Regions from separate parts of the Homo sapiens genome. Here all the other regions are linked to region 4. The links are contacts of gene promoters, found by promoter capture Hi-C in blood cells and fetal thymus (Javierre and others, 2016). All regions are on one chromosome and are shown on one strand. Each heading gives the region's core, a stretch centred on a gene start or on the middle of the fragment in contact. The rest is flanking DNA. Distances are from core to core; before and after follow the strand shown.

Region 1 (4,186 bases), core at 1,128-3,627, 1.4 Mb after region 4:
TACACCCAGAGTACAGAAAAAGACAGCTATTTTCCAGCTCTCCCAACATGTTTGTTTTCCAAATTATCTACTTTAATTTCTAGTATATAATTTTAATAAGTAAATCTCTGTAGCAAACTTTTATCCAAATTTACAAAATAAAATTTGAGGTTTACCATTGTTAGACTCAGTGATTTTAGTAACTTTAGTAATTAAGTGACTTATTATCCACTCTTTTTAGAGATGGGATCTCATTCTGTCACCCAGGCTGGAATGCAGTGGCAAGAACATGGCTCACTGCAGCCTCCAACTCCTGGGCTCAAGCCATCCTCCTGTCTCATCCTCCCAGGTAACTAGAACCACAGGTGAGCACCACCACACCTGGCTAATTTTTAAAAATATTTTGTAGAAATTGGGTCTCACTATGTTGCCCATGCTGGTTTTGAACTCCTGGGCTCATGTGATCCTCCTGCCTTGTCATCCCAAAGTACTGGGATTATAGACATGAGTCACCATGCATGGCTTCTTCTCCTTTTTTTTTTTTTTTAAGATATTTACTGAATTTATTAAAATGAAATAAAAATGGCTTAGGAAAGTATTAATAATTGGAAAAAGACAATATTCACATAAAAATTCTTGTGGCCAGAGATGTAAAAATGGAGCTACTATGGCAGGTGTATAGAAGGTTAGAAGCCATTATTTCCTCCTCCCCTTCCATGAATGCAAATAGGATACTGATATGGTTTAGCTGTGTCTCCACTGAAATCTCATCTTGAATTGTAACTCCCACAATTCCCATGTGTCATGGGAGGGACCCAGTGGGAGTTAATTGAATCATGGGAGTGGGTCTTTCTCATGCCGTTCTCATGATAGTGAATAAGTCTCACGAGATCTGGTGGTTTTATAAAGAGGAATTCCCTTGCACAAGCTCTCTCTCTTTGTATGTTGCCATCCATGTAAGATGTGACTTGCTCCACCTTGCCTTCCACCATGATTGTGAGGCCTCCCCAGCCATGTGGAACTGTAAGTTCATTAGACTTCTTTCTTTTGTAAATTGCCCGGTCTCAGGTATGTCTTTATTAGCAGTGTGAAAACAGACTAATATAGATAACGCTTAAAAATATTACATATATATAAAATTTAATGAAAGATAGAATATTCTCATATCTGTTCTAAAACCCATCTTGTAAACACTTAGGAATATGTGCTGTAGTCAAGGAATTTCCTCTACAAATTAACATTATTTGTCAAATGCTAATATTCACAATATTAAATGAGAAAATACACTGTACTAAAATCAAAAGCATCTTGCTGCAAATATATTATTCATATTTATGCAACTTATTGGTAAAGTATGTTATTTTAAACAGGGTAAGAATAGCTCCCCAAGAAAAAATCCTGACAATATATAAAGCTGTATAGATTGCTTATTAAGTCGCCTGTTATTTTGCTTACAATAAATGAGAGAAAATAGAAAAAAAATAATTTCAATAAGTTTTATTTTGCCTCTGGCCATGACTCTAGAATTGATTTTTTTAAATGTATTGAGATGAAATTTATAAAATATAAAGTTAGTTAACCATTTCAGGAAGGACAATTTGGTGGTATTTAGGACATTTACAATATTGTACAATCACCACATCTATCTAGATTTAAATTATTTTCGTCACTTCAAAATAAAACTCTGTATCCATTAAGCAGTTTCTCCCTCTTGTCCCCTCCCCTTAGCCTCTGACAATCATGAATCTGTATTCTGTCTCTGAATTTACCTTATCCAGACATGTCTTATAAATGGAATCATAATGTGACCTTTTTTTGTATGACTTCTTTCATTTATCTTAATGTTTGTGAAGTTCTTCCACTGTTGTATCTGCATAAACACTTCATTTCTTTTTATGGCTGAATAATATTTTATTGTATGTATGTACCATAATTTGTTTAAGCATTTATCCATTGATGAATATTTGGGCTTTCCCCACCTTTTGGCTATTGTTCACAGAGCTGCTATGAACATGAGTGTACAAGCTTGTTTTTTTTTTGAGAATCTGTTTTCAAATATTTTAAGTATATACCTATGATTGAAACTGCTGGGTCTCATGCTAAGTCTATTTTTAACATTTTTAGTAAGTCCTTTTCCCTTTTGAAGCTAAAGATTTTTTAGCAGTCTTTCCTCATGACCACCAAAATTAAATATATATATTTAACAAAAGATAACATCTCTTAGAGTGAATACTTCATTTAGAGTAAAAATCATTTAGAGTAAATAATTTTCCTCTATAATTTAAAATTTGGTATATTACAATAAAAATGTTATTTTTAATCCTAATTTAGTCTTCATTTAACTTGGCCTTTCAAATGGCTTATCTCTTCCAATTTGAAAAGTTTCTAATCCATATTTGAAAAGGTCTAGTCCATATTTAGTTTCATTCAATATCCTGAAATTTTTGTGCTGCTATAACAGAATACCAAAGACTGAGTAACTTATAAGGAAAATAAATTTATTTCTCACAGTTCTAGAGGGTGTGAAGTCCAAGGTCAAGGCACCAGAAGGTTCGATCTCTTGCTCCAAGATGGTGCCTTGTTACTACATCCACCAGAGAAGAGGAATGGCTGTATCCTTACATAGCCAAAAAGCAGAAGAGAGGGAATCCACTCCTGCCAGCCCTTTTTATGGTTGTATTAATCTATTCATGAGGTTGAAGCCTCCATGACCTAAACACCTCCCATCAGGCCCTACCTTGCCATACTGTTGCACTGGGGATTAAGCTTCCAACACATCAATTAGGGGGAACATATTTAGACTTTAGTAACCCCTCATTTTAGTTTTAGTTGTTCAGAGATTCCCACTCTGTATGATGTACCTGTACAGACCCTTCTCATTATCTTACTTTATATGAAATAATTTCCTTAAAATAATAGAGAATGTTACCTGTTTTTTTAATTAGACTTATCGTGCAATTAAAATAACACTTGAAATATAGATTTATTATTGGTTAGGGAGAATTAATATTGATGTTAAATTTTATGATAAAACTATAGATCAGTGAAAATCTACTGTTATATTATATTTTTTTAATTTCAAGGATAATACATAATTTTATTGCCCTGGGGCTTATGATTTAAGTACTATATCTATATATGCCTCAGCGGTTATTCTAACTTCACTCCTCTCCAGTAAAAGTGTCTTTTTATTAAGTTCCATGAAGAGACCGATGCTGAAAGGCCTCCATGATATATTGTAAAGGGGTAAAAATGAGTAATCAAAACATGCATGTTACATTTTATGTAAAAAAGTGAGTATTAAAAATACATACTTATGTTCATTTGTGTATGCTTAAAGAAAGGAAGGACAAAAACAAGAATTATGTACAAGAACTAACGATAGAAGTTATGTAGGAGTGAGGTGTATAACGTATAGACAGAAAACAGACAAATTGGAGAATTTTCAATGTACAGCTCATTAACAGTTTACTATTTTTGAACTCTGTAAATATATTACCTATTAAATATTGTTCTTCATTTTTTGTATGCTGTTATACAAAAATTTCACTTTTCAAAGGCAAACTGTTTACCAAATAATGAAATTATAAAAAGATCATCCTTAAAGAAAATATGCGGTTATGTAGGGAAAATTTGTCTATTAAACCTTATATTTTGATATATTTTTGTCCTCCAAAATTTGCTACTAAGAAATTCATTTTATTCACTTCACAATTAATGAACATCATGTAACTTTATTATAAACTGGATTTTCCATGTCATATTAACTTGTAAACTTTTAGATTGTACAGAAGAAACAAAACACAGATCTAACTTACAAACTGCAGTTGCCTGCTAAGCAGGAAAGAGAAGGTCCACTAAGTTCTAAAAACAGAAAGGCAGAGTTTTTTATAAATAAAATGACTCACTGTTCACTGTTGTTTTTGTCCTTCTGAGTAATTTGGAAGACCCACAAAATGAGATCAAAGTTGGATTTTGGAAACTTGCCACACAGTATTGTCAATATATTATAGTAAAACTATGGAATGCAAAACATAAGTGGAGAAACTCCCTCCCTCCCTCCCCTTACCTCCCACACACATACATGCCATAAGCAATGACACTTGTTTATATACACTTACCTTAAATTGAAAGAGAAAATAATGTACTAGTATTCCTGGGACTAAATAAAATATACACAATTAATGCTAAAATGGAGTGCGAATAT
Region 2 (4,242 bases), core at 1,654-4,153, 1.3 Mb after region 4:
TTATATGATTCAAATGTTTGAGAGCTTCAGGCTATGAGTATTGGAACCATCGCTTCTTCATTAAAAAGAAAAAAGATTTGTTAAATATCTCTTATATATCAGTATAGCACATAAGCATGTAGGTAATGTTTCTTGTCTCAGGGTGGTTGTCATGGATTAAGTAAGGATAACAATTAAGTATACAATACATAAATCAAGAAAAATATCAAATAGTGACTACAGTGGGTTGAATAGTATCCCTCCATAATCCATGTCTACCCAAACCTCAGAATGTGACCTTATTTGGAAGTAGGGTTTTTGCAGAGGTCACATTGGATTGGGGTAGGCCCTAAATTGAATGACTGGTGCCCTTATCAGAAAAGGAGAGGATGCAGAGAGGCACACATAAAGAAGAGGCCATGTGAGCTTGGAGGGAGGCAGAATTACTTATGCTTCCAAAAGGTGAAAAATGCCAGGAGCCACCAGAAACCAGAAGAATCAAGGAAGAATTCACTTCTAGATCCTTTGTACAGAGCATGGCCCTTTCAGCACCTGGCTTTCAGACTTTTGGTCTCTAAAATTGTGAGAGAATAAATTTCTGTTGTTGTAAACCATCTAGTTTGTGGTAATTTCTTATGGCAGCACTAATACAGCAGTGATCCATTGGAGGTAAAGAATTAGGAAGATAATTATATCATAGAAAATCAATGAATGAGACTGATTCTGGGGTTCACATGAAAATAAAGAGCTAGCCACAAAAAAGAAAAACAGGAAGAATGCTCAAAATAGAAGAAATGGCAACAAAACTCCTAAGTGTGGCAAATTTAAGGAACCCAAAATGAGGCTAAAGCTCAATGGACTAAGGATAGAAGGGTAGGAGACAGGTGAGAAAGGAATTCAAGATTCATGTAACATAGGAATTTATACAGATTTTAATTCTAAATCCAATTTGAAAATGTGTGAAAATTTGAAAATAAGCAAGAAGTGGACTCAGTATTTAACATTTAAAAAATTCTCTCTGATTTCTACCTGGAAAATGTATTTTGTGTTGTTGGCTTTTCAGTTTACTAGTGAGTTGGGAGAGTTCCTTGACCACCCTCACAGGACTTGCCACGCGGGTGTGGCTCTCTGTTTGAACAAGCTCTCAAACTCTCTCCTTTGAACAAGCTCAAACCCTTTATGGGAGGGCGAGCACGCAGACGGGCAGGTGCAGGAACCAAGGGGAGCGCTTTTGGGCTCCAGCCCCATGGCAGCATCTAGGAGTGGATGTCTGACACTCCTGAAGCCCAAGTAGGCCTGAGTTACAGTGCGCTCTTTTAGTCTTGCCATCCACGGATGGCTTAAGTGTTAGACAGCTCAGTGAACCCTCTTGGCACCCAGGTCCAATCCAGCATCCAGGAAGAATCAGGTCGCACACAGACTAGAAGGGTGAAAGCTGGGGTTTTAGTAAGTGGTGGAGGTGGCTCTCCACAGAATGGATGGGGAGTTGGGAGGGGAATGGAGTGGGGAGATGATCTTCCCCTGGAGTTTGGCTGTCTAGTGGCCAACCTCCTTTCCAATAGTCCCCAGACAAACTCCTCTCGGCATTCAGACACTCCTTCTCTTCTCTCCTTCGAAATGCCCTGCATTTCTGCTTTTCATCTGTTCGGCCGCTTCTGGAGCCTGGGATGTGGAGTTTATGTGGGCACAGGATAGGGGGCATAGCAGGCCAAAAGGCAACTTTTTGGGCGTGAAAACAGGAATACCTGTTCTCATTTAGGGCCACGGGTTTCCAGGCTTGAGGGTGGGGCCTTTGCTGGGAAACTGCCCTCTTCTACCCAGTATTTCTGTCTCCTGTCTTTATCACTAGCATACAGTCATAAAGAGGAATGGCTTGGAGTAAGCTCAACATGCTATTTCCAGACCTCTTAATCCTGTCTTTGGCAGCATGTTTTAGTATCAATACAATGACAGTAGAAAAATGGAAGAATATTAAGGGCAGACGACGCCAACACCAAATACAAGTAATTGTCATATGAGTAATTGCAGCCTTCCTCTCATTTTGTTTTTCATCCACTCTCAGAAGCAACTGCTGGTTTTCCAAACAGAGTGTGATGAAGGGCTAAGACTCATAGCTTATCAATTGATATTACTGATATTGTAATTTTCTTGAACTAAAAGTAAAGTCCTATTTCATTATCATTTATATTATTTCTTATAGACATAGCCAGTTAGCAATAATATTCTTAGCTAACTACATCTGAGAATTTGAGATTTCCTAAAAAATGGCAAAAAAATGCTAACATGAAATGATTGGTACTGAATATGCTGTCCAAAAGGTTTGTTATCTTTTGTGATATAACTAAATAAACAAACAATAATTTACCTGTACAAAAAAAAAAACAAAACACCAAACTTGCATGCTATCAATCCCTGTGTTAATAAGAGTTCTGAATATTTCCAATGGGTAGTTTCAGAATTTATGAAATGGCTAAAAGGAAAACGAATAACAGGTAAGTACTTTGTTTTATTAATAAGAAGCAGTGATGTAGATATGAAAAATAACTTCTTGTGCTCAAGTGACTTTCCCAGCACATAAAATGGAGAATAACAGCTAGCGAAGGCGTAGTTCTTTGGCCACCTTACTTCAGGAAAGAAAGAAAAAAATATATATGGGGAACTTATGCTCACCTAGGGAACTTGCTCTCATCAGCTAATTTTGAGAACAGGAAAAAGGAAATTGCGTCCCAGGCAGCTTGACATGAGACAATGGGTCAGTCTCCTTATTGCTTAAACATGTAGCATTGTGCTGAGCTGTTCTGCACTTTTCTTCTCACAAAAAGCAGAATCAGCCTGAAAGACCAGTGAAGATATTGCAAAAGGAGGATTTATTGAGCTTCATTACATCTTGAAAGGATTAGTTGCACCTGCACATAAAGAATCTCTATTGGTTCAGATATACAGGCTGAAGGCGCCTTCTTTATTATACTTCTTTCAAAGGAAGATATTTGACCCACACTCTTGACAAGTTTCAAAGCCTCCAGGTTCACTGCCGAGGAGCAAGAGTGCCATCTGCTGGTTAACAACATTGAGCACATACAGAAGGCTTTGAATCTCTTCGGAAAGAAAATTATTGTTCAAAGAATTTTCATTTCTTTGAAGCTGAATTACAGAATAGCTAAAAATATCATTTCCTCATGAAGATATTACTCCACTTCCAGTTGCATAAAATGAAGTAAAAATGCACTCTAAAAAGTAAAGTGGGATGAAAGGGGAAGAAGGAGGACAAAGGGATGTATTTTGACAGAGAACATTAACAGCAAAGTTAATTTTACCGTGAAGAGAGGGTCTTTTTGCTTCATTTCCTAAATAGTTATTTATATTTTATTGTAAATTCCTTTAGGTAAATTAGCTATTAAGTAGTGTGGAAATTCTTGATGGTTAAAACATGTTCTTGGCCGGGCGCGGTGGCTCACGCCTGTAATCCCAGCACTTTGGGAGGCCGAGGCGGGCAGATCACGAGGTCAGGAAATCGAGACCATCCTGGCTAACACGGTGAAACCCTGTCTCTACTAAAAATAAAAAAAAAAATTATCCGGGCGTGTTGGCGGGTGCCTGTAGACCCAGCTACTCGGGAGGCAGAGGCAGGAGAATGGCGTACCTGGGAGGCGGAGCCTGCAGTGAGCCGAAATCGCGCCACTGCACCCAGCCTGGGCAACAGAGCGCGACTCCGTCTAAAAAAAAAAAAAAACCATGTTCTTTACTCAAGGACATTAATATTAACATTCAAATTAGAGCAAGCGTATATCAAAAATATAACAAAATTATAAAATTGTTTTATTAATGTTAAATTATCTTCATAACGTCTTCTACTTAAAACCTAATTTATGCATGGACACTTTACACTTTTTTCTCAATTTCTGACCTTTAATTTTTAATAATGTCATTTAAACATCCATGCAGTAAAAAATTATTACATTGAAACAATTCTATTCCATCTACAATATGTACTGTGTTTCTAAATATACTTGCCAGTTCCACAGCCCCCACCTAACCCTCGTTTCCCATAAATTTTTCACAAAACTAAGTTGTGATAGTTGTAGCCAGGCCCTTCCCAGAGCTCCTTTCCGAGGACTCCCTGCCTCACACTTCAGTTGCAGGCTTCTTCAGAGATTCCTCAGCTACAGCAAACTGACTGCTCCAGTTCCCCTGTCCACCCACATCTGATGACTGCTGGGGTCAGGAATATAAAAGCCAGCCAGTTTGACTTAATTTGGGACTCCT
Region 3 (3,887 bases), core at 156-2,655, 1.3 Mb after region 4:
TTCGAATTTCAACCGAGTTTATAGAAATAGACTCCCTTCTTCCTATGCCTCTCAACAAAGTCTTTTAAAGAAAGTCAGAAAAAGAGTAATATTAGTTCTGGGATGGTCTAAGACTCACTGAAATAATTTCATAGTTTTGGAAAATGGACATCTAACTGCCTGCGTACATACAGGAAAGGACCCAACATATGAAATCCATTAATGTTAAGGTCTTTCTTTGAGAAAGCAGAAAACTGCTGTCTCAAGGATACACGCAATATATTTTCCGTGGGTATAAATCCTGAAATAAATTTTTATCATAAAGTATCAATTTTTAATTTAAATTAAATTAAGTATGGTAATCACCTAGACTTTTTATTTTGGAACATGAAATTTAATTGTAATAAGATAATTAGAATATAATTTTTAAATATTAATTTAATGGCACAAGCTCTTTATTTTTTATATTATCTTTCAAGGAAATACTTTGTATCTTTCTTTAAGTTTTTACTGTAAAATTTGTTATAAAATTTCCAACCATGTCATAAGGTTATAACTGAGAAGTAAACAAAGGATAAGTTTCAGAAAGAGTTGGACATTTTATCAGTGGAATAAAAAGATATATGCAATAATGACTTACTTCTTTCACATAGGTGAGGGAATCAGATATTCAGTTACATCAAATTTTTCATATCACTGATATTTACTATTTCAAGTGGCAAAAGTCTACTATACATTTCCCTTTTTATTTAAGTTTATTTAATCTCTCATTTCTTTGTTAGAGATTTACTCTTTCCTGGCCCTACTTGTTTATTTTCTTGAACTGTCTGTTCTTTGGGATATTAGGCAGATTTATTAAGGATTATATTAGGGACAGTAAAAGAAGGACAAGAAAAAATTCCTTTCATGTAAAAATTACTCATTTTGAGTCCCTTTTTGTAACGTGAAGGGAAGTGTGCAGAGACCACTTCACTTGATGATTTCATTTTTAACTCTTCATATGAAAAGCTTTATGAAAAGCTTTATGTTATGCTCATATGAAAAGCTTTATGTTCGGTATCTATAGAGATTCTCACTGGTTAGCCTGAGCCTTACCTTAGGCTAATTTCAATTATAAGGATAATGAAGTAATTGTCATTTGTGCATCTATTGCTGTGCTGTGTACGTGTGTGCTTGTGTTCCAATGTGTGTATGGTTAGAGCAAAGGAAAGTCTGGAGCAGGGAGGAGGAAAGAGAGACAAAAGAAATACAGCATTTCTAAATGATGACAACAAAAATGTGTATAGAAATGATACAGCAAATAGATTCAGGTAGATATATAATAAAGCAGGTCCCTCAAACAACTGCCCTATTCATATGATCATTAAGGATTTTAATAAAATAGATAATCAGCTTGATACAAACAGACTTTCAGATTCTTTGAATAACAAGGATCAAATTTGAAATCATATTGTGTCACTGATCCATGGAGCTTTTGATTAGTTTCCTTTTCAGTTTGATCTGGAATGCAAATTGCTCAGACCCATTCACTATTGTAAGCATTAAAAAGGGCTGTTTGTTCACTTTATTTTGATATGTCATCACTTTTCTGGGCATTAGGAAGATAAACATTGTCTATACTTGTGAGCTATAGTCAGCTCAGCAGGCATTTAAAACATTAAAGGTATGTGTTCCTTTTCAAAGGAAAAGAAGCTGTGCCAGCAGTAACTCTTTATGTCTGGAGTAAATAGGAATTATAACGTCTTTTGTGGTAGTCAATTGGTCACCTAGAGTTTTACATATGACCCTGGTTGGGTTACAAAGCTTTAATCATATTATGTATTCTGTTTTTATATTTCAGGTTTAAATAATTAATATGCTATTAATTTATTAAATTGTTTTTCATTTGGGTAATCTAGGAAAATGTTTATATTTTATCACCAATATAGGTGCTATTGTCCCTCCTCTATAAAGACTTTCCTGACTCTAAGCTATCTTCTTAGATCAAAGTTTAACTTGCTTCTTCTACCATTAGTTTGTCTTATTCTTACCTTGCACTGTAATTCCTTTGCCTATACATATATTATATCCACAAATAGATTTTAAGGTATCTGAAAGTCATCTATCCAAAATCTCCTTATATTCCTCAATTTTTCAAGTATTTCATTCATTGACAATTGATAAAATTTTGCAACACAAATTTTCTCAACATACAACAAGATTTTTTTCTATGTAACTATCTTGCTCTGTATTTTTACTGGGGCTATATTCTGATAATACAAAGATACTAAATACAATAAAAAATTATCTTCATCTTTAATGACCCTACACCCTAATTTACAAGTCAAATACCACAAGGCCTAGAGATGAAGGCCAATTACTTATATATTTATAAGTAGTTTTTCTAAATATATGCATTATATGTGGATTAAAAACGATTTATCATCTAAAAGAAAACCCACCTGAAAACATAAAATAGAATCAAGGCATTCAGTCTCCCAGCTGCACAGTATTCATTATTCTTACCATTAGGTTCTTCAACTATAAAATTAAGGATTTGGAATGTCAAGAAACATGGATGCTGAAAGTTCCTGAGTATTACCTCCTGAAAAAAAATCATCTGTAGTAATCTATTGCCATATTGCTAGTTCATTCAACCCATATTTATTGAGTGCATACCATAATTTAGTCATCCTTAAAAGTGTATGGAATATTACAATGAAAAAAGAATCCTTAAATTGGAGTTTGACATGGTTTGACTGGTTTGGTCAAACCAGTCATGGTTTGACTGGTTTGACTGTGTCCCCACCCAAATCTCATCTTGTAGTTCCCATAATCCCCACGTGTCGTGGGAGGGATCTGGTGGGAGGTAATTGAATCATGGAGGCAGTTATTCTCATGCTGTTGTGATAGTGAGTGAGTTCTCACGAGATTTGATGGTGTTATAAACATCTGCCATTTCCCCTGCTTGCACTCACCCCATCCTGCCGCCCTATGAAGAAGCTGCCTGCTTCTCCTTTCCCTTCTGCCATGATTGTGAGTTTCCTGAGGCCTCCCAAGACCCGCAGATTTGTGAGTCAATTAAACCTGTTTCCTTTATAAATTACCCAGTCTTGGGCAGTTTTTTATAGCAGCGTGAGAACGGACTAATGCAATTACATTCCTGTCAGTGTGGAGAGTGTGTGTGTGTGTGTGTGTGTGCGTGCGTGTGTGTGTGTGGTGCTAGGGCAAGAATCAGAAACTGAATATGTAAGATATCAAGTTGTAAGAAGTCAAAGAAAAAATTAATTAAGGTAAGTAAAGAATGATGGAGAGATGGTAGAGAATCATGGAGATGGGATGCTAATATAAACAGAATTGTTAGGAAAGGATTTAATGATGAAATTTCATTTAAGGAGAAACTTGAATGAGAGCATTTGACTATTCAAGGGACCAAAGTCCCAGGAACAGTCAATAGCAAGGACCCAAGTATAGACCCTGCTTAATAAGATTAAGAAATAGCAGGTGACTTGGTATTGCCGACGCATCTGAGCAAGGGGAAATACGTCAGAAAATACCATTGGAAAGACATCCAGGTGTCTGATCATAGGACCTTGCAGAACGCATAAAGAATTTTAGATTATATTCTGAGTATGATCAGTCTTTGAGAAGTTGGAACAGTTGAGTTTAAATAACTGCTGGGTTGACTCTCACAGTCTAAATCATGTTTTATCACTGAAGTATTTAAGACAGTTTATTTTAACCATTATGCTTATTGCATAAGTTAGATATTTGTGAAGATAATATGCTAGATTATGAAATAAAAAATTATGCAATAAATGTAATGATTAAAATAGACTGTCATAAATACTGCAATGATAAAATATGGTTTAGACTGCGAGCAACTCAGCAGTTATTTAAAACATTAAATATATGTGCTCCTTTTCAAA
Region 4 (3,966 bases), core at 1,085-3,584:
CTCAAACTCTTAGAAAGGGTTGTTAAAACTATCTTGGTGGGACCCTATACAGTTATTAGAAATTCAGAAATAAATCCAGTGACTGAATATTAACATTATTTCTACTGTTTTTATTAACTCGTTTAACACACAAATATTTGTTAAGCACCTAACACATTCAAGACATTCAGGGAAGCAGCCTGAAGATTACGGAGCCATGGACACAGCTGAGGCCATTCATCACATTGGGCAACATATTAACAGTTGATTCCATCTGCTTTGTGCTCAGAGTCATTAAAAGGAAGGAAAGCACAGAATTCACGTTCCAGATGTTGTTTTCTCATGATATGTTCAGGATACTCTGGTAAATTCTGTCTAAATTTGAAGTCTGAGCATCTCAAACTAAATCAGTACAATACAATGTCACAGGCATTGTATTAGAGGCTGAAGAAACAAAGACACAAAACAGCCAACACTTTTGTATGGGATGCAGACACATGCATAACTAATTATAATATAAAGTGAAAAGAGCTTATTATAGTAGTGAAATCAAAGTGCTTTGGGAAAACAGGAGGGAGTGATTAATTCTGTAAGGGCTTTATGGAAAGTATTGAATGGTAGCAAAGGAAGGTGTCATTTGGTTTAAGCATATTAAGCTACAACTTAAAAGAGAAAGGAGGAAAATGGGAAATCCAAAGTTAACCACAATTCTAGTTAAACACAAAATTCTGGCCAATAAACTGACAAAATTATTTAAAAGTTTAAAAATAGAGATTTTCTAAAAATCAAAAACTACTTACTATAAACCCACCATATACGGGAGAAAAAAAGAGATATTTTATTTGCACAATGACATTGCAATTTGCATGGAAGTGCAATGACATATACAAATGAAAATAATATAAACACATAGAAACATACAATAAACAATTGCATGACTATGTACAGAATGAGTGGTATAACATTAAATATAAAGCATTCAGAAAAAAAATAAAAGTTGCTATAGTTTGAAATAGTCTACGAGGATTTAAAATTTTTTTCTCTATCCAAAGAGGGTATTTATGGGGTTGATTGGTTGTGAGTCCAAACCAAGGTTATAGAGATGGGGCAGCATGAGACACAAGAAAGAGCCTTGGTCAGATTTGAGAAACCTGAGCCTTTCCTTAGCCTGACTCTGCCATCAACCATTTATAACTTAAAATGACTCCTTTAGCTTCTGTGGCCCTCAGCCCTCTGCCACAGATAAAAGGTCAAATGAAGAATGTCTTCCACCCCTTTCAGTTATTCCATTACTGCATTTGTCTGTTCACCATCTCCAAATCAAGATATCTCTTGTTACTTGCTAAGGAAGCTTTGGGACCCTACACCTTGTGCTCTTAAATCAAGCTGACAAATGCAGGATCCCGTGGCTGCTTGCTTTCCATGTCTCTACCTCATGTCAGATTTATGTTTGGGACTAAGGGCAAGGTGTGTGACTATAAACCTGGATATCCCATCACAAAGGATTTACCATGCAGCTAAAAATGCCTAACGTACAGGGCTCACCAAATGCACAGGCCTTTTTAATGTCCCTGACGGTGGCCTCATGAACTCTCATTGTCATATATTTTTGCAGAATCTGTAGAAGTGAGATATTTCTGCATTACTTTTGCTTAAAGAGGATCCTCTATTCCAATTGCATAGGATCCAGGTTCATCAAAACTTAGATCTTCTCGTCATTATATACTTCTAAGTTCCTACTGTGTGAATAAGGGGTGCAAAAATCTAAAAAACTCCCGAAGACAAGGATATGAGGCACACCTCTTTGTAGGTCTGGCGTAAGGGAAAGAGGAAGAAAGGATTACATTCTACTCGTTTTTATCTCTCCCTGTTTGGTCTTAATCGGGTGCCAGCCCCTTAACGGAGGGTTGATCCCTGTTCCTCATCCCTATGCCTGCCTTGTCAAGGCCATTAACCGTGGATTGAGGTTTTACATAGTGGAACGCAGGTACTGTTTTGTGGGATTAGCATTTTTAGGACGGTGTTTGTGGTCACTCTCCCTGTTTCTTCCTCATGGGGTCCCTTAACAGGTTTTATGGTATAGAGAAGGAACTAAAGAAGTCCCCAAGTCACCCAGAAGGAAGATCAGACGTTAGAGGTTGCTTTACACATAGGGTGCCCTGTCCTGATAAACATCCGTCAGCGCTTGGCCAGGGCTACCTCTAAATCCACGCTGCTGGCAGCCTCCGCGCAGCAGGGATGAACTTCTGCACGCTTGGGAGTTCTGGCGTGCGCAGTGGAAGGAGGGGGCGAGGGCTGGGGGAGGAGATCGGAAGGGGAAAGGTAATCCCCGGCGTTTTCAGCATCCTCTTTTTAGAAAGACTGAGTCTCTCCCAGGACAGCTGCTGCGGTCACACCACAAACTTAAAAGCCGCCCTCCTGTTTGGAGCGTGCCTTTCCTCGCCACCCTCTCCTCCCCAAAGCTCCAGCTGGTGCCTTGCTCTCCGCCTGTCCTAGCGCGGCTCTCGGGGGAGGCAGCAGCGCCCCCTGCCTCCCGGCCTGGCCCCTGCGGCCGCAGCTTCCCGGCTCTGCCAGGGCTGCCGGCGGCTCCGCTTGCTCAGCCAGGGCTGCGGCTCAGAGGAACGCGCGCCGGTGCCCCGGGTTGCCGCGCCGCTGGACCTCAGCCTGCATCCCGTTCCCCTCTCCCTGAAAAGGCACCAGGAAAAGAGAGAGGGAGAGAAGAGTTCACAGCAGGTAAGTCTGGTTTGGGTCACCTGCTACTCCAGTGGGAGGGTGTGCTGGAGACCGCGGTGCTAAGCGGGGATAGCCGGGATTTGGGGGTGGCTGTGGGTCCGAAGTGGAGGACGAGCATGGTTTGGGAGATAAGGAACCGTCCTGAGACAGAGAAGGCTCCCGGGAGCGGACAGAGAGTGGGCGAAATCGGTGCGCAGTAATCGCGGCGCCAGCTTCAGCGCGGCCCCTGGGGCGCAGTCCCACCCCGCCTCAGCAGCTGCGGAGCCTTCTGACGAGCCTCCGCCTGGCAGCACTGCACAAAGTTTTCCTCCTGAGACGCGTCCAGGAACTTTGCTCTCTCCCTGGCTTCCTGGTTCCCCCACCACCCCTCCTGGTCTGGGCAGCAGAGAGCGTCTATGAATGTGTCCCCGGCTTCCGCAGGCTGCAGGTTCATTTGGAGACGCTTTAGTCGGGAACATCCGGGGAGTACTTGACCAAAGGGCATCTGCGCCCTCGCTCGCTCCTTTCCTTGTTGGTCTGGGAGAAGGGAAAGGGGCAAGGAAGAAGGAAGGGAAGCGTGGTGGTTTTTGTTGTAGCGTTTTGGAAGAGGAATGGGCGACGCCTTTTTCTTCGCCGGGGAATCGCGACGTTCCGTCTGATGGAAGTGTGCATCCTTTTAGATTTAGAGGGAAAGTTGGAGTCAAACAGCAGCCACAAAGCTGGCTGTCTGAAATGTGGTTAAGGCAAAACACTCGGGGGATCTCTTTGTAGTAGTGGGCTTGGCTCGCTTTGGAAAGGCCGGATTTGACTCGTGCTGGGCATTTAACCAGGAGTGCGGTCCCCAGGGTGTTTCCTCCCGGCTTCTGCCCAACGAGCCTGGAGTTAATGCGTTAATGGGCTACCCTGGTAGCGCACGGGCCGTTTTCGGCACTGTTTCTCCTTCTCTGATGACTCGAGTTCAACCTCCTGGGCTGAGTTGCTTTGCCTCCGTCACAGTGCAAGGAGGGAAGTTGACAGGAGGAGGAGACGCCGCGCTGTGGCAGGGAGCTTTGGGATCCAGGGGACTGGAAGAGAGCCGCGCGCCAGCAGCTGGGGCCGCTGGTGTCCGGGATTCCGAGTTATGGGGACAGGAGTTAAATAGCCGAACTTTCAGCGATTTCGCCTCGAGCGAAGCGGTAATAAAAGGCAAGCTTCTGTGCGTGGACTCTTATTTCATCACCAAAACCCCACCACTTTCCGTTTAGCTTAGTGCTATTTGCACAAGCAAAAGAAGAG
Region 5 (3,702 bases), core at 363-2,862, 1.2 Mb after region 4:
CTCATCTTTGAAATGTTTTCCAGCCACTGGAAGTTAAATTAGTCTTTTCTACTGATAGAGCATCTATTGTATTTCTGCAGAAAATCATGTAGAGTCCAATGAGAAAAATCTAAGTAATGCTGTTTATACTTTAAGTTAGGCATTGCTACAGTATTCTGTGTTACCAAGAGTTTATGGGCAACATTTCCTTTCCTCCTATTCTTGACCTTTGACACTGAGTATTATTGAGAGAAATACTAAAATTATAATAAAAACCACTGGAATTTTATTTGTCTTTATGTGGTACAGCAACTAACTGTATTTGCTAAATAACCTAAATAAATATGTAAAATAATTGGCATTCATTTACCCATCTCCTAAATTATGTTTTAGTTTTACATGTATTATTTACAAATTAAACTTACAATAAAGTAGAACATCAAAATTGATAACAAATCAAAATTGAATGAATATGGTTCACAACCTCATCCATCTCTGTCTTCTCTACATAACATCAAATTTCCTAAGATGGTTGCATTATTAACATTTCAATCTTGCGAGACATTTATGGGGTTAAAATGGAGAGTGAATAAATAGAAAGCTGAAATGTGATGCCTTCTGTTTCTGCTATATTGGAAGAGAATCAAATGCTAAATAAGGCCTTTAGCAACATGATATTTCTGGTCAAATGATGGATATCATGACTTTTTTGTTGTTACAAAAGGAAGCAATTTATTTAACTATTTTCTTTCCTCCCATTCTTTCTGGTTTATTAGCTTCATTTCATTTCCATAAATTATCCCACTAAAAGAGGAAATGATTAATTGAAGATTGCTTCCTTAAAAACATTATTTCTTGTCATTAACAGCTGCAACATATTGAAACATTGTGTTATCCAAACACACTGTGGTGCTTTTAAAATAATTTTAATGTTTTGTTGCTCTCAATTATTTTGTTCTAACCATTCAGATGGTTGAACCCGTGGGGAATCATTATGCCAATTTAACAAGGATACCCTTCTTTTCTACTCGCAATTTTCATGACAAAAGTTTGTATGCAAAACAGTTGCTTTCTAAGTGTGAAATTTATTTAGAAATGATTTAAAATGAGATTGCTTTCTTTCTGGAAGCCCACAAAATTATCTATTACATGACATCCTTTAGTGATATAGGTATCCTTGGAGATGTGAGAAGATACTCATATGACTTCTCAGTTCTCTTTCTCTTCTTATTATTCCCTATTTGGAATTTTTGATTTTGGAGTAGACATGATTAGTCATCATTATCTCCCACCCTCTCTCAAGTCAATTTTTATAACATTATTAAACTTAACAAATTTAGAATATTTGAAATGCTTACATCCTCCAGCAGTTCAATAAAGTATTCCATCATAATCAGGGTTATAAACTCTATTTTCTTTTTGATTGATTAAACTTTTATTCATTTCTTTTATATAATTATGATAACTCTATGTCTTGAGGATGTCAAAGTTACATGAGATTTCAGGTTTTAAATTCAATGTGTTACCTGGATTTGCCATTTAGCAAACATCAGCTAAGCGTTTACGATTACCATTCTGCCAGGATTATGAATACACAGTGTGGTGGGCCAGGGGAATAAACCAGATTAAAAATAATTGTAACAAATATAACTACACATACTCTAAGGAGATAACTAAAAAGAGATTTTTTTTGGCAATATAGAAGAGGAAATATTTCTTTGATGGTTGTAGGGGAGTAGGATTCACATTGAGGAGTGTAATTTGTCTTCATTTGGATTCTCAATAAAGGATTTTAAGATTTAATTAGCAGTTGAATCTATCATAATAGCAGTAATAATGATGTCACCTGACATGTTTATGACTATTGCTGTGCCCAGATATTGTGCTAAGACTTTTGTACAAGTATATTTTAAGAACAACAATAGAAAGGGTTATAAAAGACTGGTGCAGTGGCTCATGCCTGTAATCCCAGCACCTTGGGAGGCTGAGGCAGGCGGATCACCTGAGATCAGGAGTTTGAGACAAGCCTGGCCAACATGGTAAAACCCTATCTCTACTAAAAATATAAAAATTAGCCAGCTGTGGTGGCAGGCACCTGTAATCCCAGCTACTCTGGAGGCTGAGGCAGGAGAATTGTTTGAACCTGGGAGGCGGAGGTTGCAGTGAGCCGAGATCGTGCCACTGCACTCCAGCCTGGGTGAGAGAGTGAGACTCTTTCTCCAAAAAAAAAAAAAAAAAAAAAAAGGAAAGAAAAGAAAAGAAACAAAGAAAAAAAAGGGTTATAAAAATATTTCACTGTCTAAAATTTGCTAAATGACCTATCTAACATATAAAAGATGAGTTGCAATTGTTTGGTAAAAATAAAGATAAGATAAAAATAACAACAATGTCACACACATAGAGCAAGAAGACTGAGAGAGAACAAAGACAGACATGCGGCAAGAATATTTACCAAGAAGTTATAAGGGTAAGACATACATTTGTCTAACTGCTTTTTTTCAGTCAATGTAGATGGAAGTATGATCACAAAGTCCATTTCAAAATAAAAGAATCTGTTGTTCACGAGAATCTCAATAATTTCTAGAAAGTAAAACCAGAAAGAAAAATTTTCCAAAAGTAAACATAGAGTAAACACTGTAATGCAATCAATATCATATCAAAAATATTGTGACATCAATACAGTGAATAAGGGAGAATTGACAAAGGTCTCACTCAGCATAGGGTGGGAACACCCTGCCAAAACCAATTTAATAAAATCAACTGTCCGATGTGATTAACATGGTGTGTTCCTTGTAAACTGCTCTCAGATCAACTGGTTTAATCCAGAAAAAGATTTTATATCACTCTTATCCTCAATATATAAGATTTCATATCTTTCAGAAAATATGTACTCACCAATATTTCCTTAGTTGAGTTTTTGTTTATATTGGATAACCATGAATTAAATATTATACTCTCTGAAAAGTACCTAGAGTAGAGCTATACTGTGCTGCCATTTATATGTACGGCTGTTTGCTTTAATAAAGAATCAAATTGATAGCATGCAGTAGGGGGACTATAGCAAATAATAAAGTAGTATATATTTCAAAATAGCTAGAGGATTTTACATGTCACCACAAAGAAATGATAAATGTTTAAAGTGATGGATAAGGTAATTACCCTGATTTGATCATTATACAATGTATACATGTATTGAAATATCACACTGTACCCTATAAATATGTACATATATTATGTGCCAATTATAAACAAAACAAAATTTTTAAAATTGATAGTTTTTTGTTTGTTTGTTTTGAGACTGAGTCTTGCTCTGTCACCCAGGCTAGAGTGCAATGGGTCGATCTTGGCTCACTGCAACCTCCGCTTCCCAGATTCAAGCGCTTCTCCTGCCTCAGCCTCCAGAGTAGCTGGGATTGTAGGTACCCGCCATTATGCCCCACTAATTTTTTGTATTTTTGTAGAAATGGGGTTTCACCATGTTGGCCAGGCCGTTCTTGAACCCTAGACCTCAAGTGATCCGTCCACCTCAGCCTTCCAAAGTGCTGGGATTACAGGCGTGAGCCACCATGCCCGGCAAAATTGACAGTATGTTTGACATCCCAAGAAAAAGTGAAGAACTTAATAAGGTTATAAGATAGGAACCGAAATATTATTTCTGTTCGTACTTTTTTCTGGAGCTGGGGAGAGAAGGGGGCTGGAGGGAGATAGAACACATTGTTAATG
Region 6 (3,830 bases), core at 1,251-3,750, 1.4 Mb after region 4:
TTATATATTATTAGGAGAAAAGTCGCCACGTTTGTATAAAATATTCTAACTCTGATAAAAGTACAAGATGTTTCTTGACCTTAGTCAACTTTGGATTTAGTCACTAAGAAATCTGGCTGATATTTTCTTTTTCTTTCTTTCTTCTTTTTTTTTTTTTTTTTTTTTTTTTTTCAGTGAGGCATCCACTCTCCTCTTCTGGAGAGTATGCGTTCTATTCTTGGAAAATGCAAAATTTGATTCAAAATCCCAATTTTCTTAATAAAACACTTGAAATCTCAGTAAGAAAATGCATAACAAGGAAAATTGTATGTTGTAACAGAAATTTGGAGCTAGACTCAGGTGAGTTTAATCTCAACCTACTAGCCACATATTGATAAATAATCACTAAACCTCAGTTTCTTAACATAAAAAATGGGGATAATAAGATCCAAAAAGGCTCTTGTGAAGATAAGATAGGTGCTTAGTAAATGGTCAGTATTCAGTAAAGGATAATCATGATAAGTCCCATCTTATAAAAGAGGAAGAAGCAACATTAAATTAGGTGACTTTTCCAAATGAAGTAGATCCCAAATCATCTGATATCCAATATAACTGAGCAAAAAAAAAAAGGACATATAGAGCAAGAAATAAAAGTATTAATACTTCCTTAAAGTTATTAATATATATTTTCACTTTGTTTTTCTTAAAAAAAAAAAAAAAAAGAAAAGCCAGCAATTATGTTAAGAAAGACTTCAGGGTCTCTCATGAGGTTGCAATCCAGCTGCCTGTCTTCTTGAGCTGCAGTTATCTCAAGGCTTACCTGGGGCTAAAGGATCAGCTTCCAAGCCCATTCTTGTGGTTGTTGGCAGGCCTCAGTTTCTTACCATCTGTTGAACCAAGAGGCTCAGCTCCTCTCCGACTGTTGGCTAAAGGCCTTCCTCAGTTTCTGGCCACATGGACATTTCCATAAGGGCAACTCACAACATAGAAACTGGCTTCCTCCCATGTAAGTGATCTGAGAAAGAACAAGAAATAGGAGAGAGAGAGTGCTCAGGCTGGGAGTGTGGTGGTGCTACCATGGCTCACTGTAGCCTGGAACTCCTGGGCTCAAGTAATCCTCCTGCCTCAGCCTCCCTAGCAGCTGGGACTACAAGCATGTGCCACCATGCCTGGCTACCACAATCTTTTATAACCTGAACATGAAAATGATATACCATCATTTCCACAATGAGCTGCTGGTTACCTGACCAACTCTGGTACAAGTGAAATGGGACTACAAAAGGACATGAATTCCAGCAGGCAGGAATTTCTGGGTTTATCTTGAAAGGTGGATACCTCACAAAAATGTTGAGAGTGCTCAACTAAAAAACATTCTTTTTATATTTGGGGATCAAATGTATATGCTGAGATAGTGTATAAAATGCTTACAAAAGTAACATTTATTCATTTATTGGTATTCGATAAGTAATTCACAATAATAATTTTTCAGTGACATCGTATTAAGTAAGAAATTCAGCTATTAAAAATTTTCCTAGTTTGCTCACTATTTTGCTATTATTAAATGAAAATAATGATAAAAATTGAATTATGGAGTTATTTCCATAATAGTTTTTACACAAGCCAAAATTAGAAATAATTTTATTCTTTTATCTTTTAACATTTTCAACCTATAGTTTTCAACCTACAGTTAACTAAGAGATTGGTATTAAGCCATTTCCATCTTGTGAGAGTATTTTCCATAATGTTACATATCAGATTGACACCCATTTACCTGTACACACAAAAGCTATAATCCATTGCAGAGCTTTCCTCTCACATAACTTGCAAGGCAAGTGATCAAGTAAATGAAGGACTAAGCGAGAGCACCAATATTAATTCATGTGCTATATGGATTGTTAAAGCTTCATTTTTTTTCTATTTTTCTACCAAAACAATCACATAGAATTTCAAATATTTTTTGATATGCTAGCAGATCATCTTGCACACTTCCCTCCACATTACTTTGGTGACTGCTAATGTAACGAACCCAAAATGTATCTCTGTATGTCCTTGACTTGTCAATTGGTAGAATTTTTTTTTTTCATTTCTTGCTGAAGAGCAGCAGTAAAATGTCAGTCATAACTTCTTTGAAATAATTCAATTCTTTCTGCCATTTATCTAACCTTTCAAAAACAAATGAATCTACCAAAAACAAACAAAAGTAACAGCAACAACAACACAAACCTCAGAATTCTATTGTCACTCCTCAAATAAACTCAGCTACAAAGACAATCAGGATCTCCAAGAAAGGCAGAAGAATATGTAGGTAGAAGAGGAAAAGGTGTAGCTAAGGCACAGTGAAATAACCTCGGTTAAGGTAGGCATCAGGGGAGGCCTGGAGTTAGCACTCTAAATATGTGGTTCTCAGTCTAGACTGCCCATGAGAATCACCTGCTGAGCTTTTAAAAATTCCACTGTGCGGAGTTGAACAAGGAGAACCCATGGACACAGGGAGGGGAATATCACACACCCTGGCCTTGCCGGGGATGGGGGGGCTAGGGGAAGGATAGCATTAGGAGAAATACCTAATGTAGGTGACAGGTTGATGGGTGCAGCAAACCACCATGGCACATGTATACCTATGTAACAAACCTGCACATTCTCCACATGTACCCCAGAACTTCAAGTATAATAAAGAAAATTCCACTGTGCATATCAAATTAATGAGAATGTCTGAGTCTGAGACCAGACATCAAGAGTTTATAAACCTTCCTGGGTGATTCCAATGTACAGCCAAATTCAAGAACCAGTGCTCTAAGTCATAGAGAAACAGACTTGACCCTGATAAATGATTTCTCTGTTGGATATAGTTCAGTGGCTGGCATTTCTAAGTAGCAAGATGCTCAGAGGGAGGATAATAGTACAGCAAATAGTCTATTTTTGAAAGGAACATCGGCCAGTGGTAGAAGTAAAATGATGAGGGAAATCCAACTTTGGGGATTAGGACTTTGTATGATATTAGGCCATGCTTACATTGCTATAAATATCTGAGACTGAGAAACTAATAAAGAGAAGAGGTTTAACTGGCTCACAGTTCTGCAGGCTGTACAAGTATGGCACCAACATCTGCTCGGCTTCTGATGAGGGTCTCAGGAAGCTTACAATCATGGTGGAAGACGAAGGAGGAGTAGGCATGTCACATGACAAAAGCAGGAGCAAGAGAGTGGATGAGGGAGGTGCCACACACTTTTAAACCACCAGATCGAAAAAGAACTCACTATCCTGAAGACAGCACCAGGCCACAACGGATCCACCCCCATCACCCAAACACTTCTCACCAGGCCCCATCTCCAGCATTGCTGATTACAATTCAACATGAAATTTGGATAGAAACAAACATCCAAGCTACATCAGATTTTGGGTGAACTTGGTAGGTTTTCAAGTCTGAACACACTAGATAATGGTCTGGACCTCAGTCTCAGAGAAGAAACCAAAATGCAAACCAAGACAGCAAGACAGAAAGTTCATTCATATTGCCTAGGCAGACATAATGCTTGCTGACATAATGGGAAAGCTCCAGTTCATTCAGCAAATGGTAACCTGGGACCACTACGGCAGCCACATACTATTAGTTGTTTAGAGCACCTGGACTGGTTTGAGACCCTACTCACTGCAGAGGTGGGAGTCCTCATTGCCTACTGTTTTGTGAGCATTAATATTGTTTGCAGTTTAACTTCAAGATGGAGTAGAGAGCCTGCAGTTGGATTTTGAGGAAGGCATCTCTTAGCTTAAAAACGCATTGTTAAAACTTTTCAACAGTACAAAAATCAGAAGTGTAGACAAATGTATTTTGTATATAATAAAAACCCAAT

The links. Contacts are between HindIII fragments. The CHiCAGO score rates a contact against its expected background, and 5 or more counts as called.
Region 1: a fragment that was not itself captured here is called in contact with the fragment with the promoter of SEMA3D in region 4 in 1 of 17 cell types (activated CD4 T cells); the score reaches 5.4 in activated CD4 T cells.
Region 2: a contact is called between a fragment that was not itself captured here and the fragment with the promoter of SEMA3D in region 4, in 1 of 17 cell types (endothelial precursors). The highest score is 9.9, in endothelial precursors.
Region 3: a fragment that was not itself captured here is called in contact with the fragment with the promoter of SEMA3D in region 4 in 1 of 17 cell types (total CD4 T cells); the score reaches 5.1 in total CD4 T cells.
Region 5: a fragment that was not itself captured here is called in contact with the fragment with the promoter of SEMA3D in region 4 in 1 of 17 cell types (M2 macrophages); the score reaches 5.9 in M2 macrophages.
Region 6: a contact is called between a fragment that was not itself captured here and the fragment with the promoter of SEMA3D in region 4, in 1 of 17 cell types (naive CD4 T cells). The highest score is 5.1, in naive CD4 T cells.

The regions. Positions count from the first base shown.
Region 1 is chr7:83,751,215-83,755,400 of GRCh38, reverse strand. No RefSeq gene overlaps it. Among named protein-coding and RNA genes, the nearest start is that of SEMA3E, 100 kb to the right of the region's middle. The HindIII fragment of the contact is 741 bases long and covers 2,007-2,747 here.
Region 2 is chr7:83,935,045-83,939,286 of GRCh38, reverse strand. No RefSeq gene overlaps it. Among named protein-coding and RNA genes, the nearest start is that of SEMA3A, 260 kb to the left of the region's middle. The HindIII fragment of the contact is 6,870 bases long and covers 1-4,242 here.
Region 3 is chr7:83,880,388-83,884,274 of GRCh38, reverse strand. No RefSeq gene overlaps it. Among named protein-coding and RNA genes, the nearest start is that of SEMA3E, 230 kb to the right of the region's middle. The HindIII fragment of the contact is 758 bases long and covers 1,027-1,784 here.
Region 4 is chr7:85,185,424-85,189,389 of GRCh38, reverse strand. It overlaps SEMA3D (semaphorin 3D), which reads left to right and starts at 2,334. Exons shown (of 19, transcript NM_001384900.1): 1 at 2,334-2,712. RefSeq lists a silencer at 2,463-2,522. The HindIII fragment of the contact is 2,551 bases long and covers 1,333-3,883 here.
Region 5 is chr7:83,967,326-83,971,027 of GRCh38, reverse strand. The region is part of intron 15 of SEMA3A (semaphorin 3A); the gene reads left to right. Among named protein-coding and RNA genes, the nearest start is that of SEMA3A, 230 kb to the left of the region's middle. The HindIII fragment of the contact is 6,553 bases long and covers 1-3,702 here.
Region 6 is chr7:83,828,238-83,832,067 of GRCh38, reverse strand. No RefSeq gene overlaps it. Among named protein-coding and RNA genes, the nearest start is that of SEMA3E, 180 kb to the right of the region's middle. The HindIII fragment of the contact is 1,235 bases long and covers 1,883-3,117 here.